Linked DNA regions of Homo sapiens: regions 2 and 3 are each linked to region 1. The links are contacts of gene promoters, found by promoter capture Hi-C in blood cells and fetal thymus (Javierre and others, 2016). All regions are on one chromosome and are shown on one strand. Each heading gives the region's core, a stretch centred on a gene start or on the middle of the fragment in contact. The rest is flanking DNA. Distances are from core to core; before and after follow the strand shown.

Region 1 (2,979 bases), core at 300-2,799:
ACCCAGGCCCATCAGCCCTAGTCCCTGCCCCCTAGTCTGGCAAGGCACAAAAGACACAGGTGAAAATACCAGGCAGTGGCTCAAGCCTGGAATCCCAGCACTTTGGAAGGCCAATGCAGGAGGATCGCTTGAGCCCAGGAGTTTGAGACCAGCCTGGGCAACATAGTGAGGACCCATCTTCTTTTTAATTAGCTGGGCATGGTGGTATGCACCTGTAGTCCCAGCTACTGGGAAACTGAGGTGGGAGGATCGTTTGACCCCAGGAGGTAAAGGCTGCAGTGAGCTGTGATCACACTCAGACTGCACTGCAGTCTGGGTGAAAGAGCAAGATCCTATATTAAAAAAAAAAAAAAAAAAAAAAAAGATGGAAGGAAGGGAGGGAGGGAGGGAAGGAGGGAGAGAGGAGGCAGGCACAGTTGCTCACGCCTCTAATCCCAGCACTTTAGGAGGCCGAGGCGGGCAGATCATGAGGCCAAGAGATCGAGACCATCCTGGCCAATATGGTGAAACCCCTTCTCTACTAAAGATACAAAAAATTAGCTGGGCGTGGTGGTATGTGCCTGTAGTCCCAGCTACTTGGGAGGCTAAGGCAGGAGAATTGCTTGAACCTGGGAGGCAGAGGTTGCAGTGAGCCGAGTTCGTGCTACTGCACTCCAGCCTGGCGACAGAGCAAGACTCTCCACTAGCTCCATGCACCGTGTTGTAGGAGACGGTCCCTAAAGGGTCTGCAAGCTGGAGGAGGGAGGGCACGGCATAGGCCTGGCTGTGGGCAAACACAGGGACAGGGCCCTAGGGGAGGCTGAGAGTTAAGCCTGGAGGGGCAGTTAGCCTGTCCTGTCCTGTCAGAGGGCCTAGTTAGTCTTCCCCTCCTGGCAGGAAGACCTGCAAGGCAAAGCCCATGCAGCTCTCTCTTTGTCCCTCGCGTCCAGCTCAGGGCACTCGAGTTCAGGGTGGCCTTATACAGGGGCAAGGCCAGGGGTCATCTCCACAGGCTGGTTCAAGTTGAAGGGACCAGACACCCAGATTCTGTGTGGACATCTCCAGACAGGGTCTTGCAGCCCCTCAAGCTAGGATGAAATCCTCAAGAGGATGGTAGAGGGTGCCCAGCATAGAAGATGCTCAGAAAATTGGCCCTCCTTCAAGGTCTGATCCCTCTAGAGGGCACAGTTCAAGAGGAGCCCCTGAGCAGGTCATGCCAGATTAGACTTGCCCACCTGTGCCCCAAGGGCTGAGGCCCTGGGCCTCCAAGCTTCCTTGGTCCACAAAGGGAGTCAGCTTGGGTAGAGGGTGGGGAGGCCTCAGGCTCCAGAATCAGGCAAACTTGAGTTCTAATCTCAGTTCTGCCACATCTCAGCTGCATGGCTTCTTTGGGCCTCAGTTTCCTCATCTGTAAAATGGGGGTAATAATACCTGCCACACAAGATACCCGTAAAGATGGAGGGAGGACATGAATGTGTGCTGCCAGAGGGTGCCTGCCACACAGTCAAAGCTCAGGAAATTGGGGCCTTACTCTCACCTTAGCATTTTCAGGTGCCAGCAGCTCCCCCAGGACCAAATTCCTAAGAAAAAAATATGACCGGCCGAGGTCCAAGCCTGGGTCCGTGTGTCACTGGCCACCACACCCTTCCTTGCCCTTTCTTCCCCTTTTTCTCCATTCACTCACCACTTCTTCTCAAGCAGGCTGAAGCAGGGGAGGCCAGCCCTGCTCAACACAACTTCCCCAGGCCCTGCAGTGGCAGCCAGGGCAGGCCAGAGCCCCTGCAGGGCCCCTGCACACCTGCACCTCACTCCGCTGTGGGGTGCTGCTCTGATTGTGGCATGCCTGGTGCTTTCACTCATGGGGCCTCATTCAAGCTTCACAGCAGCCTCAGGAAATTGGGAGTGCTGAGCCCCATGCTACCCAGGGAAAACTGAAGCTCAGAGAAGTTACTTGTTCCCGAATAGCAGAGCTGGAATTGGATTCCACCCCCACTCCCACCCATCTCCAGATTTCTGTCCCTACTCAATTTCAGCTCCAGCTATGCTATCAACAACTGTCAGGGCAAGAGAGGCTCAGGATGGAGAGCTACAGGTGGCATTCAGGGGCTGAGAGTCCCTAGTGAAGGGGTGCCAAGGCCAGGGTCCTGATGGCTGCTTGGGAGCACGAGGCAAAGACGGTGCTTCTTGAGGAGGGAGTTCAGATCTGACCCCTCCCACCAACCAGGCCAGCACTCCAGGGGTGACCAGACTGGCAGGGAGAGAGGCCGGGACATGGGTGGATAAGCACGTGGTGGGAAGGGGCATTCAAGGGGCCTGGTGTTTGGGGACGACTAATGTCAACGGGCAGAGATCGGGGAGCAATTCCAAGCGAAGAGCAGGAGCAGATACCCAGGCACTGGCAATGGCAAAGCCGGAAGCAGGGGTGTGGGGAAAATAGAAAAGTTCGGTGAAGTGTAGGGTGGAGGTGAGGGGGAGGAAAATGGGTGAGGCTGAAGGGGGTTCATTAGTCAGGCCCAGGTAGGGTTTTAGCCGTAACCTGGCAACCGCAACGTGCCTCCGGGGGCAGGGAAAGGGCCCGGGTTGGCACCGTGGGGAGGGGTGGGGCCTGGGGAGGATCTAGCAGGCAGCCCCACTTAACGACATTCAGTTAAGCAGAACGTGGAAAATAAACCTGTGAGGGCCAAACAAAATTGAAGTGCTGGCTGGCGCCAGCTCCAGCGCCTATCACCCCTGACTCGGGGTTAGAGGGCAGGACAGAGGCTCAGGGTGTGCGCGAGGAGGGCAGGGCCAAGCAGCCCAGCGGAGGGGGGCGAGTCCGGGTGATTCTCGGGGATCTGGGGGAGGGCGATGACTGCGTCTCCGAGGCTGGGAACACCGTGGCGGTGCAGCCGGGGGAGGAGGAGCCCGGGCGCGGGCAGGTAGGTGCAGGCTGCAGAGGAACCTTGCGGCCGCGCAGGGAAAGGCTTCGTCCCGTCCCTCCTCGCAGCCCTCTGCCGCCCT
Region 2 (2,979 bases), core at 253-2,752, 910 kb before region 1:
AGCGCTGGGATTACAGGCGTGAGCCACAGAGCCCGGCCGACACCATTTTTAAACGGAAAGATTTCATATGCAGATCCAAATTTGCAGGGTTTTTGTTTTGTTTTGTTTTGTTTTTCCAATTAGCACTTTTTGGGGGTTGTGTTTTAGGGCGTACCATGTGCTGTTTTTCCAGGACGTCGTGGTTTGTGCAGACCTGGTAAGACCTGATAAGTCCTGAAAGAAGTAGCCAAAATTTCATGTACTCTTCACAGAACCAGCTCTCAAAGCCTTTTCTGTCTCACCGGATCAACCCTGCAAGGGGACGAGGGTGGGGCGCAGGCGGCCGAGAGCCTTGCTGAGAATCACACAGGTGGTCAGTGGAAAAGCGTGTACCAGACCCAGGCCTCTCTGGAAGGTGGGCAGAGGAGGCGTTCGGCGGGAGAGGTGGAAATGAAAACGGGAAATCTAAAGAGAGGTGGCGGACTAGAAGGGGCAAGGGACGTGCAGAGGAAGATAGAGATTGAGGGGTGGTGATAGGGTAGTGTAAGCAGCAGAAGGGAAGGGCAGGGGACTGCCTCGAGGAGAAGGGGCGGCGGCAGCACGTCAGGGGCTTTTGGGGAATCTCATTCAACAAATGGCAAAATGGAGCCCAAGTGGTTTGCCCAAGGATGTCCAGCAGTTGGCAAGGTGGCAACTAGAACCCGCGTCTCCTAATCCCGGTCCAGGGATCTTTCTTCGCCTGTCACAGAGACAAGGGGCCAGTGCAGCGCTAGTGCGGAGAGACAAGGCTCCAGGCACGGAAAAGCAGATGCCGGGCCGGGGTTCCAGCGCCGCAGTCACGGCGGTGGACGGCAAGCTGTGCGGACGACTGGGGGCGCCATGAATGGTCGAGGATCCGGGGAGCCGAGTCCAGATCTTCCTGCAAGTGACCCCGAAGCGGCAATGGAACGGTGGCCGAAGTCTGCCCACAGCTTCCGCTTCGAAGGCGGCGTCGGAAATGCCGCGCCAGTATCCAGAGCCCTTCGGAACCTCCCGAGAGATGGTCAGGAGCTTTTGGAAACTTTAGGTCAGGGGCCAGCGACCAAAAGGCTGGTATTTCGGAACGGCTGCGTCTCCCGAGAAACCTCCAAGAGTATCTGAGGTTGCCGGAAAATGGTTAGAGAGCAGCCGAAATCAGCCGAATGCCATTCGGGATGCTCCGGAGCTTCTCGAGGCACATTCGGGCCCTCTCGGCTCTGCAAGACTGCACTGGAATCTTAGGTCTCCTTTCGTCGCCTAATCTTAGCAGATCCTTTCGTCGCCTAAATGGTAAGAGCGACTTGTACCGACAGTCCCTCGGCAATTTCCGGAAGTGTTCGGGATAGGCCCGAGCGTGGCGCCCTCTGGCGGCGGCCAGAGGTGGCGGGGGGCGGGGGGAGGTTAGTGGGCCAGCGCGCGCAGACGCAGTTGCGCGCCGGCGGCCGTTCAGACCGGATGTGGTTGTGGCTGAGGTCAGTTCCGGCGGGTGACGGTGCGGACGGGTCAGGAGCGTAGAGGCGGCGGCAAAATGGCGGCGCCTGAGGAGCGGGATCTAACCCAGGAGCAGACAGAGAAGCTGCTGCAGTTTCAGGTAGCAGCGAGTACTCGGTGCAGCAGATGCCTCCGTGGGATGGGGAGTAGGCCCCTAGAGGAGTTCAGAACCCTCCTCAGATTGGGTTCAGATCCTTCTCAGACCAGCAGGCCGGCCCCCTCCCCCCCAGACTCCAACTGCCCTGATTCCCCCGGCCCCCAAGCCTCTGTTGGACCCTAGCCTTCCAGCCATCGCTGCGGGCAGACCCGCCTCGTCTGTGCCTCTGTGCCCTCAGCGTGTCAGCTTCCCTGGTTTGCCTTAGCGGCGTCAGTCCTCAGCCATCCTTCCCAGCCCGGTTATCGGTCGGACCCTCTCCGCCCAACGAGTCTATATCTGCCGGAGAAGCTTAGTCCCCACCGCGGAGTTGGCGTCATTTCGGGTCTCTGACAGGAAAACCTCCTGCCAGCATCCCATGCCATTTCCACATACACTCCCACAAACTGGGGCCTCTTGGATACCAGGTTTCGTGTTGGGGGTTCCGGTCGGGGAGGGGGCACCTACACACAGATCTGGTCCCCGCCCTAGAGGTGTGGGAGGACACCAAGTGAGGAAACAATGCAAGATGATAAGTGTCATCAGTGGTCTGTCGGGATTTATTACTTTTGGCTTATTCCTGGATTCCTGTGCTTAACTATGCTTGAGGAGGGTGGTAACTTGCAGAAATGTTATGTTAATACAAGATGTTGTATTAAGAACATTTGCCACTGATCACTTACCCCTGAGCTGGAGAATGGTTGGAGGATACCACTAGGGTGGGTAACCTTGGCACTTTGTTACCAGTTTCCTTATCTCTGAAAGGACTGTCTTAAAAATGTCTACCCCCAGGCCAGGAGCGGTGGCTCACGCCTGTAATCCCAGCACTTTGGGAGGCCAAGGCCAGCGAATCACGAGGTCAGGAGTTCGAGACCACTCTGGCCAATATGGTGAAACCCCGTCTCTACTAAAAATACAAATATTAGCCGGGCGTGGTGGTGCACGCCTGTGGTCCCAGCTACTCGGGAGGCTAAGGCAGGAGACTCGCTTGAACCCGGGAGGCGGAGGTTGCAGTGAGCCGAGATCGTGCCACTGCACTCCAGCCTGGGCAACAAGAGTGAAACTCCGTCTCAAAAAAAAAAAAATCTACCTCCTGAGGATGTTCGGGAGATCAAATGGACATATGGATGTTAGAAGGGCCTTGTAGACTGCAAAATGCCCCCAAATAGTATTTTCTGCTATTAATTTGACTTAGGATAGACCTAAAGTTATTGATACACTTATTTCCTTATATAAAATGTGTAAATATTCATTTATTCAACTATATGAAGAACCTTAGTGCGCAGCGCTGCTAGGTAGAATCCCACTTACTATTTCAGATGTAAGTACTTTGTAAACACTTAGCATACATAACCTCA
Region 3 (2,979 bases), core at 147-2,646, 810 kb before region 1:
CTGGGAAATGTGTCATCAGGCAATTTCGTCATTGTGTGAACATCACACAGTGACTTACACAAACCTAGGCGGTACCACCTACTACACACCCAGTCTCTATACCACCGCCTGTGCTCCTGGGCTGCTAACCTATGCAGCCTGGGACTGTACCGCACGCTGCAGGCAACTGTAACACAGGGGTAAGTATTTGTGCATGTAAACACAGAAAGGGTGCCATGAAAGATGATATTATACTCTTATGGGACCGCTATTATATGTGTGGTTCGTTGTTGACCAAAACACAGATATATGGTGCATGACTATATATCTATTGTGAATTAGACATGTCCTCTGCCCACAAGAAGAGGGCCACCCAATGGTGACGACTCAGTGGTGTGCCTTAAGAAAGTTGTGCCCAGGGTCCCCTTTCTGTGTCAACTGTGATGGCTGGGCCAAAGTGAGGATAAGAAGGACTTGTGGCTGAGCCCCTTCGGGAGGCCACCACATCGGGCAGCGCTTAAAGCCAGCCTGGGGGCCGAGCTCCGTGGCTCATCCCTGTAATCCCAGCATTTTGGAAGGCCGAGGCAGGCGGATCGCCTGAGGTTAGGAGTTCGAGACCAGCCTGGCCAACATGGTGAAACCCTGTTTCTACTAAAAATACAAAAAAAATTAGCCGGGTGTGGAGGCCCACGCCTGTAATCCCAGTTACTCGAGAGGCTGAGGTAGGAGAATTGCTTGAACCCAGGAAGCAGAGATTGCAGTGAGCCAAGATTGTGCCACTTCACTCCAGCCTGGGTGACAGAGCAAGACTCTGACTCAAAAATAAATAAATAATTAAAAAAAAAAGGCAACTTGGGAGTGGATGAAGCCCCTGGGGACGGGCAGATGCCTTTTGAGGGTCTCAATGCGGGGTGAGATCAGTGTCAACAGGCTCGAAAGTGGGTTGTCCAGGCTCAGCTAGCCCCCAGTCCTCCACGAGAACCTCACAGGGGCTGGTCTGGCCACACAGTGTTTGATTGTTACACTGTTTTACCACTTCCCTCTCCTGACTCAATCCCCCACTTGTCCACAGATCCCCTGTCACTGAAGACTCGTAGCAGGGAGGGGACGGGGGCTCTGGCATCACCTTCTGACTGTCACCGTCCCCGCCTCCAGCCTGCCCCAGTGTTGGGCCTTGTTCCCAGGTCCTCTGGGCTCAGGGTCGGCCAGGCCCCTTCTCCTGTGGTGTGGGCCTCCAGCCCCAGGAGCGCCAGGAGCTCTGGCGCCTTGGTCCCTTCCTCCTGTCCGGCGCCCCCAGCTGTACTCTGCCTCATTAGGAGTCGACCCCTCCTGGGAGGTGTGGTCTCTGGCAGGGTTAATGATTGCTCAGTGGAGGTGGAGATGGTGCCAAAGTCTGCTGGCCACATAGCTGCAGGCCGCAGAGGGTGCCCACCTGTGTGCCAGCGCCTGTCCGGCGCCTGCCTGCCGCCTCCGTGGCGAAGGGGACACAGGTAGGGACTATCCAGCTCATCGGGGGTCTCTGGGCCAGAGAAATGTGGGGGTTGGGGGGATCCCTAGAGCCAAGGCAAGCTTGGGGGTCTTTAAAAGTCTCCCCTGAAGCTGGGCAGGGGAAGTCACACGCTAGATGGGGCAGAGCCGGGTCAGGTCCCAGCCTGCTGTGAGGCCTGTTTCTTTGGTAAACATGGGATAATAATACCTCCTTCCCTGGGGGCTGATGGCCCCCTTCCCATCCAAGTCCTCAAGGGATGATTCTTCAGAGGATGGAAGGGAGGCAGGCACCCCAGGGAAACGAGGTAACTGGCCTGACCCCTTCATAGGATGCTCAGGGGTTGAGGACGGGGAAGCTGACCTGGGCTCTTACCCCAGCTGCTCGGTTCACATCCCAGCTCCACCCTGACCTTGGTGGGCTACTTAACTCTTCTGGGCCTCCGTTTCCTCATTTATCAAATGGGGATGAGAAGAGTTCCAGAAAGGGCCTGAAAAGCCCTGAGGCAAAGGTGAGCATGTGGCCTATGACCGAGCCCAGTGCCACCTCAGCCAGTGCTAGGAAGTGTCAGGCAGGGACTGACCCAGGCTGGCCCCAGCTCTGCCCAGTCCGGGCCTTGCACATCTCTCTGCCCTGGTAGAGGAGGTGGTGACCCAGCTGAGAGTCGGGGCCATGCTGCGTCACTCAGGCAGGCCTGTGCTGGGTTGGGCACCAGGCACAAGGCAGGGTCCCAGTGAGCACCGAGGTCCGGCAGATGGAAACAAGTCATGGCCCGTGTGTAGACCCCTTGATTTTTATCCTCACTCTGCTTCTCAGCAGGGGAAACTGAGGCCTGGAGAGGGGAGAGGGCTTGCCTGGGGTTGCACAACAAATATGTGAAATGCTGCCATCTGAACCCAGGGCTGTTTGAGTCTGTATGTGTCTGCTGGGCCAGGTGGCCTGGGCCATAGGCACTGGGAGGGCCCGTGGCGGGGAGCTGCGTGCTCAGGTCCCACATCCTTGCTCCGGGCACCCAGGCTCGGCTGGAGTCCGCTCTGTGGGTGCAGGCACGGCCTCCTGGATCAACGGAGCCCAGACCAAGGCTTGCCCAGGGACCCCTGGATTTGGAGGCAGCCTGGGTCTAACCTGCTGCCCCTGGCTCACCCATCTCTGGGCATCTATGAGCCTCGGTTTCCTTGGAATAATAGGATAGGATAATTCCTGCTTGGGAACAGCTGTGAGAAGTAAATGAAAAAGCAGAAGTGAAAGTGCATGGCGAGCTGGCCGTGTAGCGGTGGCGGTGCTGGGGGAGCTCTGTAGCATCGTGGCTGAGTGCACCCCGGGGGCTCCCCACACTGAAGGAGGACCCACCTCCCCACCCTGACCCTCCTGGAGGTCCTGGGCAGTCCGGGTATCCTCACTCCCAGTGGTTCCAAATTCTAGAAAATCTTGGCACCGTGGACTGCTCTGAGATGCGGCTGAAGCCTCCTCTCAGCCAAGGCTGAAGAGCTGGCACCTCCTGGGCCAGGTGGGAC

Evidence for each region. The method cuts DNA at HindIII sites, captures the fragments that hold promoters and counts their contacts. A CHiCAGO score of 5 or more calls a contact.
Region 2: the fragment with the promoter of FAF2 here is called in contact with a fragment that was not itself captured in region 1 in 1 of 17 cell types (fetal thymus); the score reaches 6.1 in fetal thymus.
Region 3: a contact is called between the fragment with the promoter of CDHR2 here and a fragment that was not itself captured in region 1, in 1 of 17 cell types (fetal thymus). The highest score is 6.5, in fetal thymus.

What each region holds. Positions count from the first base shown.
Region 1 is chr5:177,360,228-177,363,206 of GRCh38, forward strand. The region is part of intron 1 of RGS14 (regulator of G protein signaling 14); the gene reads left to right. Among named protein-coding and RNA genes, the nearest start is that of RGS14, 3.8 kb to the left of the region's middle. RefSeq lists an enhancer at 1,673-1,822. The HindIII fragment of the contact is 605 bases long and covers 1,248-1,852 here.
Region 2 is chr5:176,446,883-176,449,861 of GRCh38, forward strand. FAF2 (Fas associated factor family member 2) reads left to right here and starts at 1,503. Exons shown (of 11, transcript NM_014613.3): 1 at 1,503-1,588. The coding sequence starts at 1,526. RefSeq lists enhancers at 884-1,073, 1,154-1,213, 1,524-1,583 and a silencer at 1,394-1,443. The HindIII fragment of the contact is 11,476 bases long and covers 1-1,931 here.
Region 3 is chr5:176,547,946-176,550,924 of GRCh38, forward strand. It overlaps CDHR2 (cadherin related family member 2), which reads left to right and starts at 1,397. Exons shown (of 32, transcript NM_017675.6): 1 at 1,397-1,469. RefSeq lists an enhancer at 1,669-2,602. The HindIII fragment of the contact is 9,099 bases long and covers 1-1,546 here.